Regions from separate parts of the Homo sapiens genome. Here regions 2, 3, 4 and 5 are each linked to region 1. Evidence: promoter capture Hi-C in human tissues and cell types (Jung and others, 2019). All regions are on one chromosome and are shown on one strand. The core of a region is centred on a gene start or on the middle of the fragment in contact, and the rest is flanking DNA. Distances in the headings are between cores, read along the strand shown. Region 1 holds the start of MSI1 (musashi RNA binding protein 1). Region 2 overlaps GCN1 (GCN1 activator of EIF2AK4). Region 3 overlaps RNF10 (ring finger protein 10). Region 4 overlaps PXN (paxillin). Region 5 holds the start of DYNLL1 (dynein light chain LC8-type 1).

What was found. Contacts are between HindIII fragments. The study calls those that stand out against the background at their distance.
Region 2: a fragment that was not itself captured here is called in contact with the fragment with the promoter of MSI1 in region 1 in 1 of the 25 tissues and cell types used here (spleen).
Region 3: a fragment that was not itself captured here is called in contact with the fragment with the promoter of MSI1 in region 1 in 6 of the 25 tissues and cell types used here (bladder, dorsolateral prefrontal cortex, lymphoblastoid cells and 3 more).
Region 4: a fragment that was not itself captured here is called in contact with the fragment with the promoter of MSI1 in region 1 in 1 of the 25 tissues and cell types used here (bladder).
Region 5: a fragment that was not itself captured here is called in contact with the fragment with the promoter of MSI1 in region 1 in 5 of the 25 tissues and cell types used here (dorsolateral prefrontal cortex, lymphoblastoid cells, mesenchymal stem cells and 2 more).

The regions. Positions count from the first base shown.
Region 1 is chr12:120,367,135-120,372,579 of GRCh38, forward strand. MSI1 (musashi RNA binding protein 1) reads right to left here and starts at 2,030. Exons shown (of 15, transcript NM_002442.4): 1 at 1,899-2,030; 2 at 1,699-1,739; 3 at 1,058-1,139; 4 at 874-958. The coding sequence starts at 1,957. It also overlaps the pseudogene RPS27P25. The HindIII fragment of the contact is 19,353 bases long and covers 1-4,338 here.
Region 2 is chr12:120,170,559-120,176,003 of GRCh38, forward strand. It overlaps GCN1 (GCN1 activator of EIF2AK4), which reads right to left. Exons shown (of 58, transcript NM_006836.2): 11 at 5,188-5,316; 12 at 4,604-4,654; 13 at 3,513-3,611; 14 at 3,095-3,268. Among named protein-coding and RNA genes, the nearest start is that of MIR4498, 18 kb to the left of the region's middle. The HindIII fragment of the contact is 3,020 bases long and covers 1,076-4,095 here.
Region 3 is chr12:120,537,732-120,543,176 of GRCh38, forward strand. The region is part of intron 1 of RNF10 (ring finger protein 10); the gene reads left to right. Among named protein-coding and RNA genes, the nearest start is that of RNF10, 6.1 kb to the left of the region's middle. The HindIII fragment of the contact is 6,302 bases long and covers 1-5,445 here.
Region 4 is chr12:120,206,556-120,212,000 of GRCh38, forward strand. It overlaps PXN (paxillin), which reads right to left. Exons shown (of 15, transcript NM_001385981.1): 15 at 3,892-5,445. It overlaps PXN-AS1 (PXN antisense RNA 1), which reads left to right. Exons shown (of 4, transcript NR_038924.1): 2 at 1-66; 3 at 3,284-3,379. Among named protein-coding and RNA genes, the nearest start is that of PXN-AS1, 8.0 kb to the left of the region's middle. The HindIII fragment of the contact is 7,134 bases long and covers 1-5,445 here.
Region 5 is chr12:120,496,030-120,501,474 of GRCh38, forward strand. It overlaps DYNLL1 (dynein light chain LC8-type 1), which reads left to right and starts at 84. Exons shown (of 3, transcript NM_003746.3): 1 at 84-187; 2 at 387-524; 3 at 2,044-2,464. The coding sequence starts at 393. The coding sequence ends at 2,181. RefSeq lists an enhancer at 1-408 and a silencer at 1-487. The HindIII fragment of the contact is 3,028 bases long and covers 1,721-4,748 here.

The DNA.
Region 1 (5,445 bases), core at 780-3,279:
CAGCTATTGTTGCAGGTAAACGGGAGCCAGGGACTGACCCAAGCAGAGAGGCCCAAGGCTGGGGGACAGCAGGGAAGCATGGAGAGAAGAGATCCACACTATCCCTGCCCCCAGCAGACAGACACCCCCATCACATGGGAGTAACCCCCTCCTCTGACTTTTCTACTTTTCCATCTGCCCTGGAGCCAGCGCCCCCTGCAGGGTCTAAGACACGAAGGAGCTGTGGGACAACAGCAAAATGTTCCATGAGTTTGAATGCCAACCAAGCAGCTTCTCCTAAGATCTAGTCTTCCGAAGGGTCGTTTCCAGGCAAGCTAGAGCCTTTCTCATAAATCCCCTCCGTGGGCAAAGCAGGTCCCTGTCTTCCACACAAAGCAAGGAGCTCATTGACCAAAAGTCGGGGGAGGAGGGAAGGAGAGAGGGAGGGGGCTTCAAGGGATGCTTTGCCATTGGTCTGGATGAAGAGGGGGTGTCGCAGAGCCAAATACTAGTTAGAGTTCACAGAAGCCACCGGGTGGGTCAGTGCTACCCTGACTCACCCAATTTGGGCTGGGGGAGGGACCTAGCCCCACCCCAAGCTCTGCTCTGAGGCATCATGATTAGTACTTCTAGGGAGAGGGTGGCGGCTGCCTCTCCCCTCACCAGGACTAGGGGAGGGGGGATGTAGCATCTCATGGCAGGCCAGGGATTTTTCTCCTCCCTCTCCCCCCCAACTCTAGTGACAAAGTTTCAGAGCATGGCAGCCCTCTTACTCAGAAAAACTCCCTCCTTCCTCATGGACCCCGTCCAGCTGTCCCCTGGGGAGAGTCCTGACCCTCTCCTCCGGCAGCCTCCCTCTCCCAAAGGACCCCCGAAGCCCCGAGGGCCACTCACTGTTTTGGAGTCGAGCTCGTGCCGCGATTGCGCCAGCACTTTATCCACCCCCGCCTGGTCCATGAAAGTGACGAAGCCGAAACCCCTGCGCGCCGTAGTGAGGGAGAGGCAGATGGTTACAAGGCAGTGAGTGGCGGGTGGAGGGGGGCGAGCCGGGAGCAGGAGGAGGGGGTGAGGGGCTCACCTGGATCTCTTGGTCAGGGGGTCCCGCATCACCAGACACTCCTTCACCTCCCCGAACTGGCCGAAGTATTCGCGCAGCCCTTCTGTAACCACACACCCGCCTTCGGACCAGCCCGGGCCCCGCGCCCTTCCCCCCCCCCCGTCCTTTGCCCCCGGTGACCCCGGAGCGGCCCGGCCGCCCCCGCGCCAAGCTGCCCGCGCGTTCTCCACTGCCGCCGCCCCCCACCGCCCTCGCCCCGTTCCCGCTGAGCCTCCTGGCGCCCACCGGGGCCCCGGGAAGCCGAGGGCCGAGCTGGGCTGGAAGGGGGACGGCTCCGGCCGGGTTCCCGCCGCTCCGGGAGCAGCCTCACAAAAGTTTGAGCCGCAGGTGCGAGCGGAGTTGGCGCTGCCGCCGGCGGGTCCCGGGGGCCCAGCCCACCCCCCGATACCCCCTGAACCCCTCATCTGCTCCCCTCCACCCGCTGGGCCGGGTGCGCTCGCGGATCGCCCTGCGCTCTCGGGGTCTCCGGGCGGGGCGCGAAAGAGGGCGCGAGGGCGCCCGGGGTCAGCAGGGCGCAGGGCCGGGCTGGGGTGTCCGGGTCCGGGGCGCCGGGGGGTCCGGGGTGCCCTGCCGGACCGGCGGGCGCTCCCGGGCTCGCTCACCCTGCGTAGTCTGCCAACTGAGTCCCCCGATGAACATCTTGCTGCGGGAGGAGGAGAGACACAAAGGGCCCGCGTGAGCGCCGGGCGCCAGGGCGCAGGGGGCGCGGGCCCGGGCTCCGGGGAGGCCCGGCCGGACCCGGATCGGCCATGTTGGCGGGGCCGGGGCGGGCGCGGGCCAAGCAGGCCGGGCCGGGCCGTACCAGGGGTCGTGCGGCGAGTCCGGGGAGGCGAGGCCGGGCTGGGGCGCGTCAGTCTCCATCGGGAGCCGCGGGCGGCGCGGGCAGCGGAGCGGCGGCGGCGGCGGCGGCGGCGGCGCTCGGCGCGGGGCAGATGAGGAGCGCGGCGAAGGGGGCCGGACGGACAGGCCATGCTGCCCCCTCCCCCGACCCCGCTCGGGCGGGCGGGCGGGGACGGCCGAGGGGAGGGCCCGCCGGGGGCCGACCTGCCGGCTCCTCCCCCCGCCGCCCTGCGCGCATAAAGCCCCGCGCTCGCCCGCGAGCCCGGGCGCCCGCGGAGGCGGCGGCGCCGGGACCCCCTTCCCGCGGGGCTCCTGGGTCTCCGGGGCCGAGCGAGACCCCCGAATCCCGGTGCGGGCCGGGACCAGGGCGCGGCCGCACCCCCCACCCACCCCGGCGCGGGGGCCCGGCCGCGGGAACGCCCTCCCGGAATGAAGCGCTTCCCGGTGCCTTCAAGGTAGCTCGGTTCCGGATCGGGAACCCCCCCGGTCTTCCCTCTCAGGTCCCTGCTGTCCAGAATTGAAGAGAACCCCAATCTCCTCGGGTCGGGCGGGAGATAGCCCTAGTGCTCCCCAGTCCCCACATGCTCCATTTCCCCAGTCGGAGCGAGAAGCCGCCCTCAGAGCCCCCAGTTTCCTCCCAACCTAATTTACAGCCCCCCACCCCCACCCCAGGGCTCTAATTTAGAGCCCTCGCTCCGTTCCCAGGATCCCATATCCAGTTTGGGGGACCCACTCAGTGCCTCGCGTCCCGAGTGGGGAACCTCCATCAGCACCCCAGTAGAAACCGTATCCTCTTCCCCAATCCGTCCTCAGCCCTTGGTGTCCAAAGTGAGAGTCCCCCTTAGTTTCCCCAAATCCCTGCCGTCCACATTAGTGGACCCTATGGTCTGTTGAGAAAATCCCGCGCCCCAAGCCCGGGTTCTCAGTTTGCCGCCACCCCCACCTCCCGGTGTGAGGAGTCTCCCCTGGTTCTCTCCCTCCCTGGCCGGTTTTTGTGAGATCCATTCAGACTCCTGTCCTGATTCGGGAAACCCGGTTCCAGACACTCACCACCCCCACCACACCGAGGCTGGAGGAAAAGGCAGTGCCTCTTAGAGCCTCCTGTTTCCAGTTTAGGAGCCCAACGCCTCAGCTGTGCACCGTCCCCTCCGAATGACCCCCTTCTTTTGCAGAGGTCTAAGCTCCACCCCATCCCATTGGAAGAGCCTAAACTACCTACCCACTGCATTTGGAATGACTTCCCTCAGTCCCTCTTATTTTGAGGCTACTCCCCGTGAAGGCAAACACCTTCCTTTCTACCCCCATCTTCTGGGTCTCTGGGATCCCCCAGTACTTGCACCCAAGGCTCCTTGGAGTCACCTTACGTACCCCTAAAATTCCCTCCCTCCAGCCTGGGAACAACCCTGAGAAAGTATTCTGGTTCACCAGGGGAGCTGCGGGGCCACTCTCCTTATCCCCACCTCTCCTTATCCCCGCCTCTCCATATCCCCACCTCTCCATATTCCCACCTCTCCATATCCAAGCCTTAGGACCCTTCACTTCCCCAGCTGAAACCAGCCAAAAAAGGATCAAACCAGGAAGCTTAGGTGGCCAACACCCCTTCTCCCCATCCCTGCTGGGGGTCTCAGTGCCACACAAGCCCCTCCCTCCCAACTCACCTTCTACTCCTTCCCCCATCCCTACCTTAATCCATCCGGTGTAATCCAGTGACAACCCATGTTGACAAGCCCTTTGCTGTTCACCTTCACATTCCATCCTGAATTCAACACCTTTTATTCCTGGGCATCATAACTCTGACCTCTGGAAGGGTGCCCATCCCCCTCTTGATAGCCCTCCTTCCCTCTCCCCACCCCAACCATCAGGCAGAGAAGAAAGTGAGAGACTTACAGTAATGGTTTCCTTGGGGACCTTCTGGGAATGCTCAGCAGGTATATCCTGCCACCCTGTGAGCATAACACTAGAAACAAACTTGCTTTTTCCTGTTTGTGTCCCCTACTCTGCCCCACAGTTTCTCAGCATCCCCTGGACTGGGGACTGGAGGGCCACCCACACAAGGCATTTCTTACCATTCCGACACAAAAGCATTCCAGTTTGTGTTGTAGCAGAGACACAGATGAGGGTGAGCAGGTAGCCTCTGCGGTATTAGGGAGGTGACTCTTCTTAGGTCTGAACTTAAAAAGGGTCATTGGAGAGGTGCGGGGAGTAGGGATCTTCCAGTGTTCCTGGACTTTGGTTTGTGTGCTGGTGCTGCTGGGCAGATGAGCTTGAAGGATAGGAAATGGGTCCTTTCCGGCAGTGGCGACCTACCCACGAGAACATGCCTCTCGACAGGGATCTCCTTCATCCTTCTCCAGAAGAGAAGAGGAAACAGAAGAAGAAACGCCTGGTGCAGAGTCCCGATTCCTACTTCATGGATATGACATGCCCAGGATGCTATAAAATCACCATGGTCTGTAGCCATGCACAAACGGTAGTTTTGTGTGTTGCCTGCTCCACTGTTCTCTGCCAGCCTACAGGAGGAAAAGGAAGGCTACAGAAGGATGTTCCTTCAGGAGGAAGCAGCACCCAAAGCACTCTGAATCAAGATGAGTGGGAAACCATCTCAATAAACACATTTTGGATTAAAAAAAAAAAAGGAAATGGGTAAAGGCATCTGTTCAGAGTCAGCCAATGCTGTGTAAGAAGTAGCTTGAGATAGGATCCATGTATTAGCATATTCATTCAGAATCTGAGGAGGAAGCGTCTACCTCTTTTGGTCAGTAGCTTGTTTGTATCACAGTAACATGGGTTAGACTTAGACAAATCCTCTTTCAGTGCAGGTGTATCTCAGCTGCAGCAGCTTCAGTCCACTTTGTTCACAATAGGGGCGACAAGCCCTTCTAGAGGTAGCCCTCACAGGACAATGCAGTTGTAAACTCATGATCCTCATAGTAAATTGAGGATCTCAGTGGTATTAAGGAAAAATGATCTTTAGAGCAACAGGCCCAGACTTCAGAATTAAGAGATTAGAGGATGTGGTTCCAGCTCTTTTTCTCTGGTACTACACACACAGAACATCACTCAAAGAATAAAAGAAGAATTTGCTTTATAGTTTTTAAAAAATCCTCTTGAGAAAGACAGTGGGCAAATGATATTATGCAACTTGGCACAGGTATTTACCGAACATCTTCTATGTACTAGACACTGTCCTAGGTGTTGTAGTCCCAGCAGCTGCCTTTGTAAAGCTTGCATTCTAGAGATGAGAGTCATACAAGTAAATGAATGAATGAATGAGTCAATGAATGAATGAGTGAATGAATGAATAAACAATAGATAAATAAATGGTGTGTTCAGTTAGATGTTGTAGGTGCCACAGAGAAGGAAGGGTGATAGGGAGGGTGGGTACTATTGGGAAGAAGGTGAGATGAAATTTTATATATATATATATTTTTGAGATGGAGTCTTGCTCTGTCACCCAGGCTGCAGTGCAGTGGCATGATCTCGGCTCACTGCAATCTCTGCCTCTTGGA
Region 2 (5,445 bases), core at 1,336-3,835, 200 kb before region 1:
AGCACTTTGGGAGGCCGAGGCGGGTGGATCACCTGAGGCTGGGAGTTCGAGATCAGCCTGACCAACATGGAGAAACCCCGTCTCTATTAAAAATACAAAATTAGCTGGGCGTGGTCCAGTTATTCAATTGATGGATAAGCAGAGACATTAGGTGTGTTGCTCAAGGTCACACGGCTAGTTGAGGCAAGTCAGAGCCACCCTCAATCCTGTCAATTCCCATCTGGTACTCTTCCCCCATACAGATGACCTTCGGACCCAAATTCTAAATTTGGGTCCAAATCTGCTGACCTCTGAACTAAACTCTTTTAAAAAAAAAAGGAAGCCAAGCACAGTGGCTCATGCCTGTAATCCCAGCACTTTGGCAGGCTGAGGCGGGGGGGATCATGAGGTCAGGAATTCCAGACCAGCCTGACCAATATGGTGAAACCCTGTCTTAGCCGGGTGGGGTGGTGCACGCCTGTAATCCCAGCTACTCAGGAGGCTGCAGCAGGAGAATCGCTTGAACCCAGGAGGCGGAGGTTGCAGTGAGCCGAGATTGTGCCATTGCACTCCAGCCTGGGTGACAGAACGAGACCCCATCTCCAAAAAAAAAAAAAAAAAGAGAAACCAGTTAAAACTATAGTTTGGCTGGGCACGGTGGCTCATGCCTATAATCCCAACACTCTGGGAGGCTGAGGCGAGCAGATCACCCGAGGTCAGGAGTTCAAGACCAGCCTGGCCAACATGGCAAAACCCTGTCTCTATTAAAAAATACAAAAATTAGCCAGGCATGGTGGTGGGCATCTGTAATCCCAGCTACTCAGGAGGCTGAGGTTGGAGAATCGCTTAAACCCAGGAGGCGGAGGTTTCAGTGAGCTGAGATCGCACCACTACACTACAGCCTGGGTGACAGAGAGAAACTCCATCTCAAAAAAAAAACTATAGCTCAAGCACATGTTTTCTTCCCCCCTACCCCAACACCTTGGTTTGTTGTTCCATGTTTCCATAGCTACTAAATGGGTACATCAGAACATTTCACAATGAAAGCAGTTTCCCAGATAATGTTTTATACTTGAATCCAAGAAATCTTTATTACAGAGGTTTATTTTCGTTTTGTTTTTAAAAGGTTTATTTTATATTATGTTTATTTTAAAAGCAATGAGCATTGAGTTCTGGCACTCTGCATTCCTTTTTTAAAAAATAAATTAAAAATAAATGCAACGAGCAGAACTAGCTCAAGCTGAAGAGACTAGGTAAAACCAAGTTTTTGCCATCTACAATTCAAAGTCCCACCTACAACTGATGGTCATTCAATGCAGCAATAATGCAAACTGATATATATAGTACATAGACTTTTTATATAATTTTTGGTAGAGACAGAGTCTTGCTATGTTTCCCTGCCTGATCTTGAACTCCTGGGCTCAAGCAATCCCGCTGCCTCAGCCACCTGTGTAGCTGGGACCACAGGCATGTACCACCATGCCCAGCTATTTTTTTAATTTTTTTGTAGAGATGGGGGTCTCACTTTGTTGCCCAGGCTGGTCTCAAACTCCTGGGCTCAAGCAATCCTCCCACCTCAGCCTCCCAAAGTGTTGGGATTACAGGCGTGAGCCAGCTCGCCTGCCTCATAGACTGTTTTTAAGTCATGGATGTGAGTTCACTATATCCCTAAGGCAGCTGAAAATGTATTGAGCGTACATTTCTACCCATGGAAAATCTATGACTTCAATCAGCACTACCTGTGGTTTGAATAAACCTCACAAACCACTGCACAAAGATGATCTATGATTCTGAGCTGGGAGACATATTTCAGAAAAAGATATATTGCTTTCAAATCAGTGCAAAAATCTCTTATGGTCAGATTCTTCTTCCCTTATCATTAAAAGAAATATGTGAGTACAAAGTTCATCAGACAAGACATTTCACACAGAAGGGGGTCCCCTCCCAAGAGGAGGCCCTGGAATCTCCTAGATGTTTCTTTTTCTTTTTTGAGACAGAGTATCACTCTGTCACCCAGGCAGGAGTGCAATGGCTTGATCTCGGCTCACTGCAACCTCTGCCTCCTGGGCTCAAGCGATTCTCCTGCCTCAGCCTCCCGAGTAGCTGGGATTACAAGCACCTGTCATCATGCCTGGCTAATTTTTGTATTTGTGTAGAGACAAGGTTACACCATGTTGGCCAGGCTGGTCACGAACTCCTGACCTCAGGTGATCCAACCGCCTCGGCCTCCCAAAGTGCTGGTAGGCGTGAGCCACTGTGCCCAGCCTCTCCTAGATGCTTCTTTAAATACAGTTCATAAGTTTAAATCTTTTTAAAAAGAAATACAAGCATATCTCTGAGATGGAAATCAGTAATAGAGGTTTATAGCTTGGAGACCAAGCTCCTATACAGATTTGAAAGTTTCCCCCAGCTCTGCTTGCCCAAATGACAGTAGGTTCCTCAACACTGAAGGAAGGGCGGTGGTCATTTTTAATAAGTCCAGAGTAAAGTTTACACGAAGTTGGATTTTTTAAACCAGTCTTTTTTTTTTTTTTTTTTCCAAGACAGAGTCTTGCTCTGTTGCCCAGGCTGGAGTACAATGGCGCAATCTCGGCTCACTGCAACCTCCATCTACCGGGTTCAATTCTCCCTGCCTCAGCCTCCCACGTAGCTGAGATTACAGGTGCCCGCCACCATGCCCAGCTAATTTTTGTATTTTTAGTAGAGACAGGGTTTCGCCATGTTGGTCTTGAACTCCTGCCCTCAGGTGATCTGCCCGCCTCGGCCTTCCAAAGTGCTGGGATTACAGGTGTGAGCCACCGCACCCAGCCCTTAAACCAGTCTTATCTGAGTCATTTCTCCATGATTTCAGATACTATAGTGACAAGTTCTGGTTCTGGTCCTCTCTGAATAAAGCTTTGTACTTTGAAAGTCTGACAAGGGGGAGAAGCCAGAATTTGTTGTGAAGACTGAATTCGGATTTTGGGCTAAGCCCAATGCTCTCATTTATTTCAGGAAGAATTAAACAGTGCAAAATAAGCTGAACTAACAGGGAAAGCGGGAACACTAACAATACCCTAAAGACTCAGTAACCTCTGCAAGGAGACCTGGACACTAGCCCTGGGAGTTGTCTTACCCCGGTAAGAGGCCAACATGCACTGCAGGTAGGCATGCCTCACCGCAGATGTGGAGGTTTTAAGGCTGAAAGCTTTTTTGAACCATTCAGTGAGCTTCTTGGGCACTTCCATAGTGAATCGGTTACACCAGAGAGCCAGGACTGAGACAGCGTGTACCAAGGTCCCTTCATGAACTAGGGCAAAAAGCAGAAGTCCAGTCAGTCCAATGTCTTATAACCATGTCAAATCATTGCAAGCAGTGCAAAAAACAAGCCAGAGTACAAGCGGGAGGAAGCAGTGATATTTCAGACAGCTACGAGCCTTGCTCTGAGGGAGGTGTGTCTTTAGGAGAGGTTTATGGAAGGAAAGCTCCAACTGTGAAAAACCACGGTCAAGGATGAGTACAGAACGCATGCTCACCATGTTGCACAGAATTACCTTCCTGCTGAAGGAACGGGATGAACAGCTCAGCCACGATCCCATTCAGGACCTGACTGGAAGGTCCAGACACCACGTGATGACTGACGCTCCCAATCCCTAAAAGGCAGATTCCCTGTTCAGTCTCTTATCAGCACAGAACCACAGAGGCAAGTCTTCCCACTGCTGCCACCTCCGCACTCTGGGTCACAGACCTCTTCTGTGTCTCCAGCAGGCATACCTCTCCTTTGGCCATTATTGATCTTCCTTCAATGCCCCCTCTACACCTCCTGCCTTCTATAGAAGCCAAGCCTCCTGCTAGACCTGAACAAGTCCCTCTTGTCAAGCAGGCAAGCAGCAGGGTCCTGGGAGGCAGGCTGGACCCAAGATCGTCACAGGAGTCAAGATGCAAAGAAGGCTTCGCCTTACCTAAGAATTATGTTAAAGCTTATCTACTACTAGGCCAGGCGCAGTGGCTCACGCCTGTAATCCCAGCACTTTGGGAGGCTGAGGCAGGTGCATCATGAGGTCAAGATCGAGACCATCCTGGCCAACGTGGTGAAACCCTGTCTCTACTAAAAATACAAAAAAATTAGCTGGATGTGGTGGTGTGTGCCTGTAGTCCCAGCTACTCAAGAGGCTGAGGCAGGAGGATTGCTTGAACCCGGGAGGCAGAGGTTGCAGTGAGCCAAGATTGTGCCACTGCGCTCCGGCCTGGCGACAGAGTGAGACTCCATCTCAAAAAAAAAAAAAAAAAAAAAGCTTATCTACTACCAGATCACAGCTCTACTCCTGGCAGAGAAATCCTGTACCTGCCTGTAATCCCAGCACTTTGGGAGGCTGAGGCGGGCAGATCACTTGACGCCAGGAGTTCAAGACCAGCCTGGCCAATATGGTGAAACCCCATCTCTACTAAAAATACAAAAAAATTAGCAGGCGTGGTGGTGTGCACCAGTAATCCCAGCTACTAAGGAGGCTGAGGCATGAGGATCGCTTGAACCTGGGAGGCAGAGGTTGCAGTGAGCTGAGATGGCACCACTGCACTCTATCCTAGATGACACAGCAAGACTTTCTCTCAAAAAAAAAAAAAAAAAAAAAAAGAAATCCTATACCTGAGAGGACGCTCATCTTCTGGGCTACAACAGTTAGTTTTCCTTCCGAGCCTGAGAAGAGAGACAGCAAAGATTCACATTCACATATGCCACATTTCCCAAGAGAGTGAACAATGCAGTCACGTGTGTGATGCCACGATACGGTTTCTGATTCCAGAAGTAGCCTTTGTGTTGTGAAGCTGGGTTTAAAGCAACTTTTACTAGCCTTTTGCTTTCTGACTCAAAAAAGAATGTTCCTACAAAAAACTTGAGAAACAGAAAAAATATAAAGAAAAACATTTAAAAGGCACTCATGTCTCCACTACTCAAAGACATTTCTTTTCTGGTGTATTTCCTTTAGTTTTTTCTGCTATGCCTACAAAAATGTGTATCTTAAAAACAAAAAACCTGAGATCACCCCATCCACACCACCCCGTGCACGGTTTTGTTCATTCACACACATTCACATTCCAGTGTGACGTCCCCCTGGCCACACAGCCTTGCCACAGGCAGACTTGGAGCATCAAGTCCCCTTCAGATCCCAGTTGAGGGAAATACCAGGGGCCACGCCTCAACCACCCGCATGGCCAAGAAGGCTTGCTCACCTCCGAGGATAGCAAATAGGTGCTTGGTCAGGGATTCCATGGCCGAAGAGTCACTGCACTGGCGTGCCAGGTTCCGCAGTGCCAGCACAGCTTCATCCATCAGGCGGGGACTGTTGGATTTCAGGTGACCTGCACACACAAAGCCACTGCTCAGAAGCAGCCAACAACTGAGCATCCAGACTTTCGTCTTTGTCTTTTCCATGCCCCCATCTCTTCAGTATTAGCTGTTTGCTCTCATTCAAATAATCTCAAGAAAGA
Region 3 (5,445 bases), core at 1,471-3,970, 170 kb after region 1:
CGCCAGTGTCTGCTTTTCTGGCTTCTGCTGTGCGTGTTCGTTTAGCAAGGAAGGATGGGCTTTGTAGCCAAATCCATGCTTCTTCACTAGCCATAATCCACTGCTTGCATTTAGGAACAAATTAAAAGGCAGGATATGTGGAGATTAAAAGGTTAGGAAACTGGATATTGGCTGATTTTTAAAGTTGAAACTAAGCTGCCTTAGGAACGTAACAGCTAAGACCAGTGCTACTACAGCAGATACTCAGGAGCTCTGATGCAGTGACTTCACGATGAGATGGTTGCTCTAACAAAAGGGTACACTCAAGCTCCGCATAATCCCATAAAAAGATTTCTGCAGTATCTCATAAGCTGAACACTTCATATACTTGATTCTGCTGGGAATCATTGAAAGGACCTCTTGAATTACAGAGTACTGAGTTGAGGGGAAAACAAGCGTAAGGTGAAAAGATAGTTTATCTTTTGTCAAGGTGAAAAGAGCAAGAGTTTTCAGTATTCAAATATTTAAGTCACTTTTTTTCTCCCCCTTTTCTACCTCGTGGAAGAAAGCCCTTTGGTTTCTATTCTGTAAACTGTCATTAATGGCCATTTGCTTCCTAGCTACATGATTAATTTCTTTGAGATTTTGTTCCAGTGGCTGGCTTAAATTTGCCCTTCATTTGTACACAGGAAATATGTAAATTTGGCTACCAGGATTTTCTTGATCTTTCCGGCTAGAGTCGCATACCACAGTTTCTTTGCCTGGGCTAATTGCCTGAACATTTATATAACATTCCTTTTCTTGATTATATTCCTACAGCTTCATTCCAGTAGTGTTAATAGGTATTTCTGAGAACATGCAGCAGTAAATATCCTGTGAATATAGCTCAGAGGAGAGAAGGTGGGTTAGAAAGTGGGGAAAGTCATTTAGAGGGAGCAAAGAAAGAGAGGCAAGAGAGAAGGTAGGCCGTTTATGGGCAGGCAGTGGACTCTGGCCAGGAACCAGGCTCTTGTCCCATCCCCCTGGGCCGATAGAACTGCCAGGGAGGTTAAGGGAAGGTCAGGTATTATGAGGCAGTTATTTTGAGGTTGGTGGTATGAAGCACTGCCCTGGCATTCTTCCTGTTATTCTGGTACCAGAAACCAGGTTACTAGTGGTAATCTGCCTTGAAGAATGCCTCTGAGCTGTAAATGGACCTGGAGATTTTAATGGCTTTGAAAATTGAGGTGATTTGAAGCCTTCAGTAAAACCACTTAGAGAAATTAAAAGAATTTCAGGGCCCGTTGGCTGGATTCCTTGGTTTATATGGCTTCATTGGAAGTCTAGTGGGTGCTCTTGACAGGAACGCTTTGGATTTATTAATGATAGGCTTTCAAATCATAGTAAAACTGTGTGTCAGCCACTATGGTAGGCATTTTACAGAAGTTTTCTTTCTTAATCCTCATGATTCTATGAGGAAGTATGGTAGAATATTAGTCCTGTTTCACAGAAAAGAAAATAGAGGCTTAGCAGTGTTAAGAGTGATTTGTCCAAGTAAATTTTTATGAAGTCCTAGGCGGTATTTTTCAATAAGCTTTGTATAATCACACTTAGCAAGCAGATAACTTACTGGCATGTGCATCATTCCTGATACCACCTCTCTCTTCCTTTCATTCAGAATTACTAATTTCAGCTGGATTCAATTTGTTGTCAGTTGATTCTGTAGTAAGGCCATATGTTGCCCCTCTGGAGGTGCTTGTCAACTACTCTGGATGATGGGTAAGCAACTTGCTTGTGATTACAGCATGAATCAGCAGCAGAAACTTGCTGACTGGTATTCTGACCTCTAGGCCGAGCCACCTGTTAGAACTAGAGCTAGAAATGAAGATGCCAAGTAATTTAACTGTGAAAAACTTGTGGCCCTTAATTTGGTAATGGGGGGAGGCTGAGATATACCTACTGCTACTTGGTGGAGACCTTTCCATTAGGGAAATGTGGAACAACTGAGAAGCTGGGTTAAGTTTTTAAGTCATTTATTTGTCGACTCTGGAGCCTGAGTTTAGTGGTCTTGTCCATTTTGGAATGTGTCTTGACAGTAGTTCTTGGCAGTTGTTCTCAGTGGTGGCTGTGCATCAGAATCTCCTCAGGAACTTTTTTTTTTCCCTCAAGACAGTCTTGCTCTGTCACCCAGGCTGGAGTTCAGTGGCGCGATCTCAGCTCACTTTAACCTCTGCCTTCCCGGTTTAAGCAATTCTTCTGCCTCAGCCTCCTGAGTAGCTGGATTGCAGGTGTCCACCACCACACCGGCCTAATTTTTGTATTTTTAGTAGAGATGGGTTTCGCCATGTTGGCCAGGCTGGTCTCAAACTCCTGACCTCATGAGGAACTTAAAAAAAAAAAAAATAGGGGTGTGTGGGGCCCCTTCCTAGGAATTTATTATCTTTTTTTTTTTTGTAGAGATGGGGGTCTCACCATGTTGCCCAGGCTGGTCTCAAATTCCTGGCTTCAAATGATCCTCCCACCTTAGCCTCCCAAAGTGCTGGGGTTACAGGCATAAGCCACTGTGCCTGGCCTTTTTCTGATTCTTTAAGCCTAGATTGAACCCGTGGGTCCTGGGCATTCATAATTTAAAAAGTCTGTGCAAGTGATTCTGGTGTGCAGCCAGGATTGAGAACCACCACTCTGAGATTTAAAACTTCACCCATAGTTCCTTCTCCCAGGAACTTGATATTTTTTGTTTTCCAAAATCTAAAGTGGATCATCTTATCACTCCTGTTCTACCCTCGAGTTTTTCCCATGTATATCCTGGCAAGTTGTCCACAAAACATTTCAAAAATAATACTCTGAATTTTATCTCTGGGTCCCAGGCCTGATGGTACCTTCAACCTTTAGCTGCCTTTTGCCTGGGTCTAGAGATAAGAGCCAGTCTCTCACTTGACATATCTGTCTTCATACCCTTAGGTAACTGGAAGACGAGAAACGAGTTGATTTTGGCAACTAAAATCACTAATCATGATGTGGTCAGTTGTTATGTGTTTTGGAAATGAGCAGTTTACTGTCTTATCAGTGAGCATTTCTGTAAGCATTATGAAACTGTTTCCTTGCCAGTGTGGTAATAAGTGAAGAAATGAAGACAGCCTTCTTGCTGAGTGCCAGTTTACTTTCTTTTTTTTTTTTTTTTTGAGACAGAGTTTTGCTCTTGTTGCCCAGGCTGGAGTGTAGTGGTGCAGTCTCGGCCTTGCCGCAACCTCCACCTCCCGGGTTCAAGCTATTCTCCTGCCTCAGCCCCCGGAGTAGCTGGGATTACAGGCATGCGCCACCATGCCCAGCTAATTTTTTGTATTTTTAGTAGAGACGGGGTTTCTCCATGTTGGTCAGGCTGGTCTCGAACTCCCGACCTCAGGTGATCCGCCCGCCTCGGCCTCCCAAAGCATTGGGATTATAGGCATGAGCCACCGTGTCTGGCCATTTTACTTTCTTAATAAGCCCTTGCCATGTAGAATCTGGCTTTACCTAAATCTATGCAAACCGTGAGGTGCATCTTGAAAGCAGCAGTTAGGGTCAAACAGGTAGGGTCCAGGATCATCTGAAACAGTCTTGGATAATGAGGTTGGAGGATATGTGTTTTCTTTATATACCTATCCTCGTAGAATCTCCTTTGCTTGAGGTGATGTGAAATGGAGTTAAGGAAAGCAAAGCAAGAGAATGTGGCTGAGTTAGCTGGGGTTCTGCATCCCCTGAGTTTTCCTTTTTTTTTTTTTTTGAGACGGAGTCTCACTCTGTCGCCCAGACTGGAATGCAGTGGCACGATCTCCGCTCACTGCTAGCCCCGCCTCCCGGGTTCACGCCATTCTCCTGCCTCAGCCTCCCGAGCAGCTGGGACTACAGGCGCCCGCCACCAAGCCTGGCTAATTTTTTGTATTTTTAGTAGAGATGGGGTTTCACCATGTTAGCCAGGATGGTCTCTATCTCCTGACTTCGTGATCCACCTGCCTTGGCCTCCCAAAGTGCTGGGATTACAAGCATGAGCCATCGTGCCTGGCTTTTTTTTTTTTAGAGACAAGCTCTCGCTCTGTCACTTAGGCTGGCATGCAGTGGTGCAAACATAACTGACTGAAACCTTGAACTCCTTGGCTTAAGAGATCCTTGAACTCTTGAACCACTGTGCCTGGTTTATCTTTTTCTTTTTTTTTTTGAGATGGAGTCTCACTGTGTCTCCCAGGCTGGAGTGCAGTGGTGCAATCTTGGCTCACTGCAAGCCCCGCCTCCCAGGTTCACACCGTTCTCCTGCCTCAGCCTCCTGAGTAGCTGGGACTACAGGCTCCCGCCACCACGCCTGGTTAATTTTTTGTATTTTTAGTAGAGACAGGGTTTCACCATGTTAGCCAGGATGGTCTTGATCTCCTGACCTCGTGATCCACCCGCCTCAGCATCCCAAAGTGCTGGGATTACAGGCGTGAGCCACCGTGCCTGGCCTTTTTCTTTTTTTGAGACAGAGGCTCACTCTGTAGCCCAGGGTGGAGAGCAGTGGTGCCATCATAGCACACCGCAGCCTCAACCTTGGCTTAAGCAATCCTTCCAACTCAGCCTCTCAGCTAGGACTGCAGGTGTGTGCCACCACATTGGGCTAATTTTTAAATTTTTTGTAGAGATGGGGTCTTGCTATGTTGCCCAGGCTGGTCGCAAACTCGTGGACTCAAGTGATCCTCTTGCTTTGGCTTCCCAAAGTGTTGAGACAACCGGCATGAGCCACCAAGTCCAGCGCTGAAACTTTGCTTTCTAATTGTTACTACTAGTGCCATGTTTGACACTAACTGTTGCTAACTGAAGTAATAGGTAAAAGTTTAGTTTTTAAGTTCTAACTTTATTTATTTGTTTTTTGAGACAGAGTCTCACTCTGCTGCCCAGGCTGGAGTGCAGTGGCGTGATTTCAGCTCACTGCAACCTCTGCCTCCCGGGTTCAAATGATTCTCATGCCTTAGCCTCCCAAGTAGCTGGGATTACAGGCGTGTGGCACCACACCTGGCTAATGTTTGTATTTCTAGTAAAGATGGGGCTTCACCATGTTGGCCAGGCTGGTCTCGAACTTCTGGCCTCATGTGATCTGCCTGCCTTGGCCTCCCAAAGTGCTGGGATTACAGGGAGCCACCATGCCTGGCCTTAAATTGTAACTAAGGTAAGGGTCACTGTCCGTAAGCAGGATTTAAGGGTAACTGGTAGGAGTGAACCTAGCCTGTTTCTGTGACTGTTCTGTTTACATTGCTGCCATTTCACATGGTTTAGATTGACTCCCAGGTTTTAGGTGGTCAGGTTTGGAGAGAATGACATCTCATTTATACAGTGAGGTTGACAGACTATGGGCGTGAAGTGGTTGCTTTCAAAATTTGGTCTCTGATTTATTAACTTACATTTTCTTCTTTCTGAGGCATTGTTTAACCTTGAATTTATTTAGCCTGCTATAAAAAGCTGGTGATTGTACTTACCAAG
Region 4 (5,445 bases), core at 2,003-4,502, 160 kb before region 1:
TCATCGTTTCCGGCACTGATGTGAGCACATCATAAGCACAAGACCTGGACACCTTTACAATCAGAGGTAGCATCTGTCTGGAACTGTATCTTGACTCTCACTGGTGCTTTTCCTTTGGTTGATGCAAAGCTTTTGAATCCTTTAGGGAGATGTCATTGTGAGTATCTATGATACTATGCTACTACTATCTATGATCATTGAGAGTATCTATGGTACTATGATACTACTATCTATGATCATTGGGAGTATCTATGGTACTATGATACTACTATCTATGATCATTGTGAGTGTCTATGATAGTCTCCTGTGCCTTCAAAATCTTTGCCTTCTCCATAGAACTTTCCCAACTAGCTTGTAAGATCCAAAGGTGTGAGACACACTGATCCAGAACATTCAGGGAGTGTAGTGAGGGGAAGGAAATATAAATTGTCTCGTCAGCAGTTAATTTTTATTTTATTTTATTTTATTTTTTTTGAGATGGAGCCTCGCTCTGTCGCCCAGGCTGGAGTGCAATGGTGCAATCTCAGTTCACTGCAACCTCCGCCTCCTGGGTTCAAGCAATTCTTCTGCCTCAGCCTCCAGAGTAGCTGGGATTACCGGCACCCACCACCACACCCAGCTAACTTTTTGTATTTTTAGTAGAGACAGGGTTTCACCATGTTCGCCAGGCTAGTCTTGGACTCCTGAGCTCAAGTGATCTGTCGGCCTCGGCCTCCCAAAGTTCTGGGGTTACAGGCATGAGCCACCGTGGCCGGCCGGCAGTTATGTTTTGATGGCCTTTTGAGAATGGAAGCCTGTGTGGATTCCGTTGTCTGCCTTGCTGTGGATCCTGAAAGGTGTTCTGTTGGCACTGGGCGCTGAGCCAGGGGGCAGGCTGTGGTGGTCCAATGTTCAGTTGGCATATTTCCACTTGTACTTCAGGCACCCAACTTCCGCCATAGCCTAGGGCTTCAGTCTTCACCCTGAGATCCCTGGTTCCATCAAGATGCTCAGCTCCATTCGGCAACCCGCGGACACCCGAGATCTCTTTTTAATGGCAATGTATTACTGCACACTTCGTATTGTCCTAAGTACTCTGTGCACATTACTGAAGCTAATCTTTGCAACAATCCTCTGAGGAGATACAGTACTGTCAGTACTCCCATTTTATCGATGAGAATACTCACAGGAAGGTTAAATAATTTGCCCAAGTCTCTCAGCCAGTAAGTGAAGGCTTCAGAACTGAAATCTAGGAGGAAGTTCAAAGCCCCTGGGCCTCACTGTGCTATACAGTCCATTCCAAACCCTGAGTCAGCCTCCCTCTGAACGCACTTTTCCAAGTATATACATATGCACAAGGTACATTTCCAAGGACCTCCTGGCTCTGATGATATAAATATCATCTCTAATTGTAGTACATCAATATAACGGAATACCATGAAGCCATTAGAAAATGGTACAGATCTATATTTATTGACATGGGAAAATATCCACAAAGCAAAGCGAAAAGCACATTACAGTGAAATATACCATACCTGGCCGGGCATGGTGGCTCACGCCTGTAATCCCAGCACTTTGGGAGGTCGAGGAGGGTGGATCATTTGAGATCAGGAGTTCGAGACCAGCCTGGCCAACATGGAGAAACCCCGTCTCTACTAAAAGTATAAAAATTAGCCTGGCGTGGTGGCGGGTGCCTGTAATCCCAGCTACTCAGGAGGCTGAGGCAGGAGAATCGCTTGAACCTGGGGGGCAGAGGTTGCAGTGAGCCATGATCGCGCCACTGCACTCCAACCTGGGTGACAGAGTGAGATGCCATCTCAAAAAAAAAAAAAAAAAAGAAAAAAAAGGAAATATACCATACCCATTTCTAGAAATAAAATAAATCCAACATGGGCTGGAAGAATAAACCAAGTTATTCTCTTGAACTCCTGGGCTCAAATGATCCTCCCACCTTGGCCTCCCAAAATGCTAGGATTACAGGCATGAGCCACAGAGCCTGGCCCCATCATTCTCTTTGGGTGAGCGTTGAAGGTAATTTTCACTTCTGAGCTCACTATAGCATGGGAAGAGTTTAAACTAGAATTCAACATGCTGCTTTTGGAGAACCGTTCCAAACAACAGGGAAGCTGTGAAGACACAGCTCAAGGTTAAACAAAACTGCCCAGGAAGCTCTAGGACAAGCTTGTCCAATCCATGGCCTGTGGGCCACATGCGGCCCAGGATAGTTTTGAATTTGGCCTAATGCAAATTTGTAAACTTTCTTTTTTTTTTTTTTTTTTTTTTTGAGACGGAGTCTCGCTCTCTCGCCCAGGCTGGAGTGCAGTGGCGTGATCTTGGCTCACTACAAGCTCCACCTCCCGGGTTCATGCCATCCTCCTGCCTCAGCCTCCCGAGTAGCTGGGATTACAGGCGCCCGCCACCATGCCTGGCTAATTTTTTGTATTTTTAGTAGAAACGGGGTTTCACCGTGTTAGCCAGGATGGTCTCGATCTCCTGACCTCATGATCTGCCCGTCTCGGCCTCCCAAAGTGCTGGAATTACAGGGCAAATTTGTAAACTTTCTTAAAACATTATGAGATTTGTGATTTTATTATTTTTTTTCTAGTTCATCAGCTATCATTAGTGTATTTTATGTGTGGCCCAAGGCAATTCTTCTTTTTCCAACATGGCCCCAAGGAAGCCAAAAGATTGGACACCCAGCTGGGCGCAGTGGCCCATGCCTGTAATCCCAGCACTTTGGGAGGTCGAGGCAGGCAGATCACTTGGGATCAGCAGTTTGAGACCAGCCTGGCCAACATGGTAAAACCCTGGCTCTACTAAAAATACAAAAATTACCCGGGTGTGGTGGTGGGCACCTGTAATCCCAGCTACTTGGGAGGCTGAGGCATGATAATTGCTTGAACCCAGGAGGTAGAGGCTGCAGTGAACCGAGATCGTGCCACTACACTCTGGCTTGGATGACAGAGTGAGACTCCATCTCAAAAAAAAAAAAAAAAGCCAGGAGTGGTGGCTTACGCCTGTAATTCCAGCACTTTGGGAGCCAAGGCAGATCACTTGAGATCAGGAGTTTGAGACCAGCCTGGCCAACATGGTGAAACCCTGGCTCTACTAAAAATACAAAAATTAGCCGGGTGTGGTGGCAGCTGCCTGTAATCCTAGCTACTCAGGAGGCTGAGGCAGGAGGATCCCTTGAACCTGGGAGGTGGAGGTTGCAGTGAACCGAGATCATGCCACTGTACTCCAGCCTGGGCAGAGTGAGACTCTATCTCAAAAAAAAAAAAAAAATTGGACATCCCTGCTCTAGGGCCTAGGACTGGAGCTCTGGATCTGACCGGAGCAAAGAGGAAGCACGCAAATCCGGACATGACGACGAGGAGGCAGTAGAGACCCATCCTCAACTGTAAGTAACTGCCTTCGGCAGGGAAGGGGCTAACCCACGTTGTGTGGGCTCAGGCACGGCCGCGTCTGGTTCTGTGCAGGAACACAGGCAGAGGCAAGCCCTGGGTCCGCATCATGGCTCTGCCCTCACTCAGATTGCCTTGTACATGTAGGTTCTTGTCCTAGAGCCTCTTTCCCTACTTCTAAATGAGTGGAAAGCCACCCACAAGCCCGTGAGTGAGGATGCCCTTGGTAAACCCAGGTGATCACACCCTGGGCAGGCCCTGCCCCACAGGGCCCCATCCCGCTGCTCCCCAGCCTGTCCTCACCAACTGCCCAGGCAGGAGCAAAGCCCACGGGGAGGACCTGTGACCACAGGCAAGGACCACGGACCCCAGCCCCAGGGATTTTGACCTCAAGAAAGGAAACATCCACAATTTACCCTCCATCTGGTGATCCAGCTGCATCTGGGGTGGGTTTGGTCTCTGCTGGGACCATGAGGTTCAGACCACCAAGAAATAGCACTAGCACAGGTGAAAATCATGGGCAAACTTTATTGGCATAAATCACAGGAATTGAAATGGGAAAAGCCAGCTTGGAAGTTTACAGAGAAAAAATAAAATCAAAATCAAATTTTCAAATAACCACTGACTCAGAGAATGGACCCCAGAAACCCCAGTCCCTCTTGGGGAAGATCTAGGGTGGGTCACTATAAACAGAGCGGTAAGGCCTGCGGGTGAAAGTGGAGACATCAGACCTTTGGAGGGGCTGGGCTGACCTTCCCCCAAAAAGGAGGGACCCTCTTCGGAGACCCCAGCACACTCGGCTTCTGCCAGGAGGCCAGTGGAGTGGTTTGGACTGTCACCATTAGACCCCGGTGGGGCCCCTTTCTCCTCATCAGGAGCCCAAGGCCTGGCTCCTCTTTCATCCTTGGTAAAGAGCTCTGGGGGGTTTCCCCAGAGGAGCCTGTCCCTCTGCCCCAAATCCTATCATGCTCCCTTATGACCTTCTTTCCAGACCCCCTGAGTGCCGATCCCACCTGTGAAAGGGGAGGAGCAGATCTGGGGAAGGGATATGCCCAGAGGAAATCAACAAGACCAAAGAGACGTCAGAGTCCTGATGGCCAAAATCAGACACCAGCTTTCCTGAGAAGGCAGAAGAGAGAGCCCCATAGAAGCAGTGGGGGCTCAGAAGGTTCAGTGGGTTCACAGGGGAGCAGAGGCTCCTGAGGGCTTACTCAGACAGGAAGCAGCCCCCCAAAACATACTTCCCCTTCTCCTCCCACAGAAACAGAACAGATAAAGTTCAGAATTCTAGGCCCAAAAGGGTGCAACACCCTTCAACCAGTTTCAGTGAAGAGCTTGCTGGCCTGGGAAGTAAAGAAGGGGTTTCCAAATACAGCAGTTTATAAAACAGTCCTGGTGAGCTATGAAGTGAAAGAGGGGGAGTCACAGAGCTGCTCCCAGTTCACCTGCTTGTGCTAAGAAACAATAAAATACAAATTGCTTCCCCACCCCAACCCTCAGTACAAAGCAAACTTCACACCAGAGCCACCATCAGTGACAGGCCCAGTGGCGGTGGATGAGGAAGAGAATACAAAAGGGAACGTCTTTAAAATCTCTTCAAAATCATTTTGTATAGAGAAGTAAAAGCAACTCAGGCGATATGAATTCAAACCTCAGTGTAGAAATCTATCAAAGTCGGTACAGTGTCCAGGCACGCCGTCCCGGAGACGGAGGAAGTGACTAGAAAACATTATTGCTGGAGAGGCTTTTCTCAGTAGAACAAGAGCAGGTATAAAAGGGGAGGGCGGGTCTAAAAGGCAGGGGCAGTCGCCAGGCCTAGGGCACTGGAAGGGTAGGAGGAGCACAGAGAACCTTCCATGGCCCCTTTGGTTCTCTGCCTTTGGATGGATGGATTTATGCTGGCATTGTCTGGAGGGAGCCGGGTGTCCCCCAATAATCACAGAACAAAGACAATTAGGTCGGGGGAGGAATAAGGATAAAAAGAGACCCCAACAGACCCTGCCTGCCCTTCCCTGCCCCCCGGCTGCACTGCTGAAATATGAGGAAGAGATGGCTCCAGTGT
Region 5 (5,445 bases), core at 1,985-4,484, 130 kb after region 1:
AGGGTCGCGCGGCGAGGGGCGGGGCCGGCGGGAGCAGGGCGGGGCCTGAGCACTAGGCGGCGGCGGCTGGCGTGGGGCTGCTTAGATGCGCCACGGTTTCGGTAGCGACGGTATCTCTAGCCGGGCCTGAGCTGTGCTAGCACCTCCCCCAGGAGACCGTTGCAGTCGGCCAGCCCCCTTCTCCACGGTGAGAAACTCGGGGGGCCAGGGGGTGTCCTCGCTGCCTTATTTCGCCCCACTCCGGACTTAGCCCTCCGCGTAGCCCGCGCTTCCTGAGAAGTGGGGTGGGGGGCGTCGTCCCGTGGTGGCGCCGGCCGGGGTGGGGGCAGTTAGTGCCTGGGGGGCGCGGCCCAACTCAACCCCTTACCCCAGGCCTTGCCCACTAGGTAACCATGTGCGACCGAAAGGCCGTGATCAAAAATGCGGACATGTCGGAAGAGATGCAACAGGACTCGGTGGAGTGCGCTACTCAGGCGCTGGAGAAATACAACATAGAGAAGGACATTGCGGCTCATATCAAGAAGGTGAGGATGGGCGCGGGGGCCGATACGCAGCCGGGAGCAGGGGGTTCCTTCCCCCCGATCCTGCTTTCCTAAGGGCGCCTGACAGGTCCCGGGAATACTGCTGGCGGCTTGGGGCGTAGAAGCTTCCAGAAAGGACGCAGATGCATTTTGCGCTCCTGTGGAGAAGACCAGACCCCCGGCGTCCGAAGTTTTTTTTTTTTTTTTTTTAATTACCCAGCTCCGCGGGGGGAAAGCGCCACCTAGCAACGGTATCTAAGATCAGGGAGCAGCGGTTCCCCCTTCTGTGTGGTTCCTGCGCCGAGGATCCATCTGGGTGTTCCGGAGGGGGGAGCTGCGTGGGTGTTTCCAGCCGGGCCGGGAGGAGATCTTGCCAGCCTTCCAGTGGGGAGTTGAGGGAAGGTGGTGGGTGGTGGCGGGGCTGGGGGCTGGGGTAGGGGCTTGGTAAATGGCAGTCTAGAAAGCCGGCAGGACTGCCAACTTCTCGAGCAGTGTTTGCTGGAAGGGAAGAAAGCTGGCAGCCTAAGCCGTGGGAGGGTTCCAGTCGAGAATGGGAAGATGAAAGACTTCAGATGGAACAGAAATAAATGCCTTTTTTGACAAACGCAGCAGTGCGTGCCTCTAGCTTGCAAGAGCGTTACTCCCCTTCATAGCTTTAAAAGGTTTTCGCACTGCGTGCAGTTAGAGTAGCTAAATCTTGTGTGACGCTCCACAAACACTTGTAAGAATTTTGCAGAGAAAGATAACCGTTGCCACCCAATGCCCCCCACAGGCATTCTACTCCCCAGTACCTCTTAGGGTGGGAGAAATGGTGAAGAGTTGTTCCTACAACTTGCTAACCTAGTGGACAGGGTAGTAGATTAGCATCATCCGGATAGATGTGAAGAGGACGGCTGTTTGGATAATAATTAAGGATAAAATTTGGCCAGTTGACAGATTCTGTTTCCAGCAGTTTTTACAGCAACAGTGGAGTGCTTCAGTATTGTGTTCCTGTAAATTTAATTTTGATCCGCAATCATTTGGTATACAATGCTGTTTGAAGTTTTGTCCTATTGGAAAAGTCTTGTGTTGCAGGGGTGCAGTTAAGATCTTTGTGATGAGGAATGGGATGGGCTAATTTTTTGCCGTTTTCTTGGAATTGGGGGCATGGCAAATACAGTAGGGTAGTTTAGTTCTCTACACAGAACATGATAAACTACACCTGTTGATGTCACCGTCTGTCAATGAATATTATAGAAGGTATGAAGGTGTAATTACCATAATAACAAAACACCCTGTCTTTAGGGCTGACCTTTCGTCCTTTGACCTCCTCAGCCTCCATTCCCATCTTCGCTCAGACTGCAAGTATGTTTGTATTAATGTACTATGTAGGCGGCTTGGAGCTGGGGAACATTCTTTCATTCTAAGAATTTGCAGATGCTGACGTTCCTCCTTTCTGCCCCTACAGGCTCTGGCTTATCCAAGAGGCAAACACTGACCTCTGGTAATTAAAATCCTAGTTCTTTTCTTTTGTCTTTTCCAGGAATTTGACAAGAAGTACAATCCCACCTGGCATTGCATCGTGGGGAGGAACTTCGGTAGTTATGTGACACATGAAACCAAACACTTCATCTACTTCTACCTGGGCCAAGTGGCCATTCTTCTGTTCAAATCTGGTTAAAAGCATGGACTGTGCCACACACCCAGTGATCCATCCAAAAACAAGGACTGCAGCCTAAATTCCAAATACCAGAGACTGAAATTTTCAGCCTTGCTAAGGGAACATCTCGATGTTTGAACCTTTGTTGTGTTTTGTACAGGGCATTCTCTGTACTAGTTTGTCGTGGTTATAAAACAATTAGCAGAATAGCCTACATTTGTATTTATTTTCTATTCCATACTTCTGCCCACGTTGTTTTCTCTCAAAATCCATTCCTTTAAAAAATAAATCTGATGCAGATGTGTATGTGTGTGAATTACAATTTGTTCAAATAACAGCGTTGAAGACGGTCACTTGATCAGATGCCCAGGTTGGTGGGGATGAGTCCATCCTTACAGAAGTTAAGTTTCTGTGGGGTATTTCAGTACTCTTTAGTCACATTCTCTCACCCATCCTGCAACTGTTGTGCATGTTGAGAAATGCAGTGCATGATAAAGAAACATTTAAATTAAATCTTTAGTCCTAATCTGAAAAAAATCAATGTTTAAGGATATTTGTTAAGACATTGCTATAGAATGTTCTGGGCCTTTGGCCTCAGGTTGTGGTGATGGATGTGTATGTAGTAGTACTTGAAGCTTTCTATGGCTATAAAATGGAAATAAGCTCAAAACAAAGTTGGGATAATGAAATGGATTCCAGGACCCTTGTCTAGCCCCCTCCCCTGCCTAGAAAGAAGGTGGCCTTAGGGGAAAGTAAATGTTTCTGAGCAGCAGTTTTCATGCTCTTCTAATAATGTAAATTCCTGCAAAGACTTTATCAGCCTGCTGTGCTGTGCTTTGCTGTGGTCAGGAACAAGTGTGAATTGATACCTTTTCCTGAAAAGACCCAATTAAAGCTGGGGACAAGTAGCTATCAGAGGTTTCCTGCTATCAATTTTAAGAGGACTGCAGTCGTAGAAAAGCAAATATGGCAGACTTGTAGGTGGAAAGGAAATAAGACAGGCTGGAACAACCCACACCCATCTTGGGAAACTGCAAGAAGGGTCCTGACTTGTAGTTAGCCTATGTTTTCCCATGGATCTCTAAGATGCCATTGGGATTTCTAAGCAGCTAGGTGACTGCTACACAGAAGAGGGCGATAGATTGGAATTGATGGGTGATAACTCCCATTGTAAGAGTAGAATTAGGTCAGTAACATATTTGGAAGTTTATTTTTCTTCAGAATGTGTGGTTTTAAGAATCCTAGCAAAGTTGTGCTACTTTAGGATTGGAAGGGTTTCAGGGTAGAGGTGCAAGATTTTGACTTTTTTAAGACAGAGTTTCGCTCTTGTTGCCCAAGCTGGAGTGCAATGGCGTGATCTCAGCTCACTGCAACCTCTGCCTCCTGGGTTCAAGCAAGTCTCCTGCCTCAGCTTCCCAAGTAGCTGGGATTACAGGCATGTGCCACCATGCCCGGCTAATTTTGTATTCTTAGTAGAGATGGGGTTTCACCATATTGGTCAGGCTAGTCTCGAACTCCTGACCTCAGGTAATCTGCCCACTTCTGCCTCCCAAAGTGCTGGGATTACAGGCGTGAGCCACCAAACCTGGCAATTTTGACTATTGTGCCAGTTTTTTCCCTGCTGTCTGCAAAAAAGGATGAGGTACTGTGGAATAAACAGGAGACTGCAACTGGGGTAATTTTATGTTTGTATTTATATAAACAGACCGAAAATGTTCCTTTTTTCTAACTTTCATTTTTTTTGAGACTCCTATTGCCCAGGCTGGAGTGCAGTGGTGTGATCATAGCCCACTGCAACTTCAACCTCCTGGGCCCAAGTGATCCTGCCACCTCAGCCTCCAAAGTAACTGGGACCATAAGTACATGCCACCATGCCTAGCTAACTTTTGAATTTTTTGTAGAGCTGGAGTCTCCCTGTGTTGCCCAGGCTGGTCTTGAATTCCTGGGCTCAAGCAATCCTCCCAAGGTGTTGGGATTACAGGTACGAGCCACCACACCCGGTTTAATTCATATTTTTTCTTTTTTTTTTTTTTTTGAGACGGAGTCTCACTGTCGCCCAGGCTGGAGTACAGTGGCGCGATCTCGGCTCACTGAAAGCTCCGCCTCCCAGGTTCACACCATTCTCCTTCCTCAGCCTCCCGAGTAGCTGGGACTACAGGCACCCACCACCACGCAAGGCTAATTTTTTTTGTACTTTTAGTAGAGACGGTTTCACCATGTTAGCCAGGATGGTCTCGATCTCCTGACCTCGTGATCTGCCCACCTCGGCCTCCCAAAGTGCTGGGATTACAGGTGTGAGCCACCGAACCTGGCCTAACTCATATTTTTTCTATCCCTTTTCCCTCTTTAGTGACCTGGCTATATTTCTATTTGAAGCCCACAGGGAATTTGGCCTCCAAAGCTTTAGTTTGTCCAGTTAAGCCCTACTCAGAACGGATGATCTGTCTCTAGCTACAGACCCAAAAGCTGATTCAAGACTGATAGCTAGACACTGGGAGTTTTAGTTGAATATGATCTGTCCCATATTTACTGTCAAGTTGGCAGCTTTTTTGTTTTTTTATTCAGATGTGAGAAAACCATGTTGCTATGGAGATAAGACTGGGTTGATGGTTTATGAAGCTCCTTCCAGTGCCTGTTCCTTCCTGTTAATTTCAAAAGCCAATAGGCTCCAGCTGGCTGAAAAGAAAATGTAAGCTAAGTTTTTCTAAGCATTTATCAAATGCTCTTAGCTGCTGTTCTTTGAGAGAGTTGTATATAGCTAGCTCTATCTAGAAGCTTTTTAGTGACAGGGCAAGATCTTGTAAGTGAAGGCACGTAAATGATCCTTACTGTGCTGGGTCAGGAAGCAGCGTATCTGAAGCCCTTTCACATACCTTTGAACTATGTTATCCACAAACTGTTAGCCAAGTCACAGACTGATTTCTGCAATTCATTTTTGAGACAGGGTCTCACTCTGTCACCAAAGCTAGAGTGCAGTGGTGTGATCTCGACTCACTGCAACCTCCGCCTCCCGGGCTCAGATGATCCTCCCACCTCAGCCTTCCAAATATCTGGGACCACAGGTGTGTACCACCACATCTGGCTAATTTTTTATTTTTTGTAGAGATGGGATTTTGCCATGTTGCCCAGGCTGGTCTCGAACTCCTGGATTCAAGCAATCTGCCCTCTTTGGCCTCCCAAAGTGCTCGGATTACAGGCATAGGCCACTGTGCCGGACCAATTTCTGCAGTTTCTTAGCAAGGCCTCTTTAAAACCTTATGATTCATCCACACTCAAAATATTTAT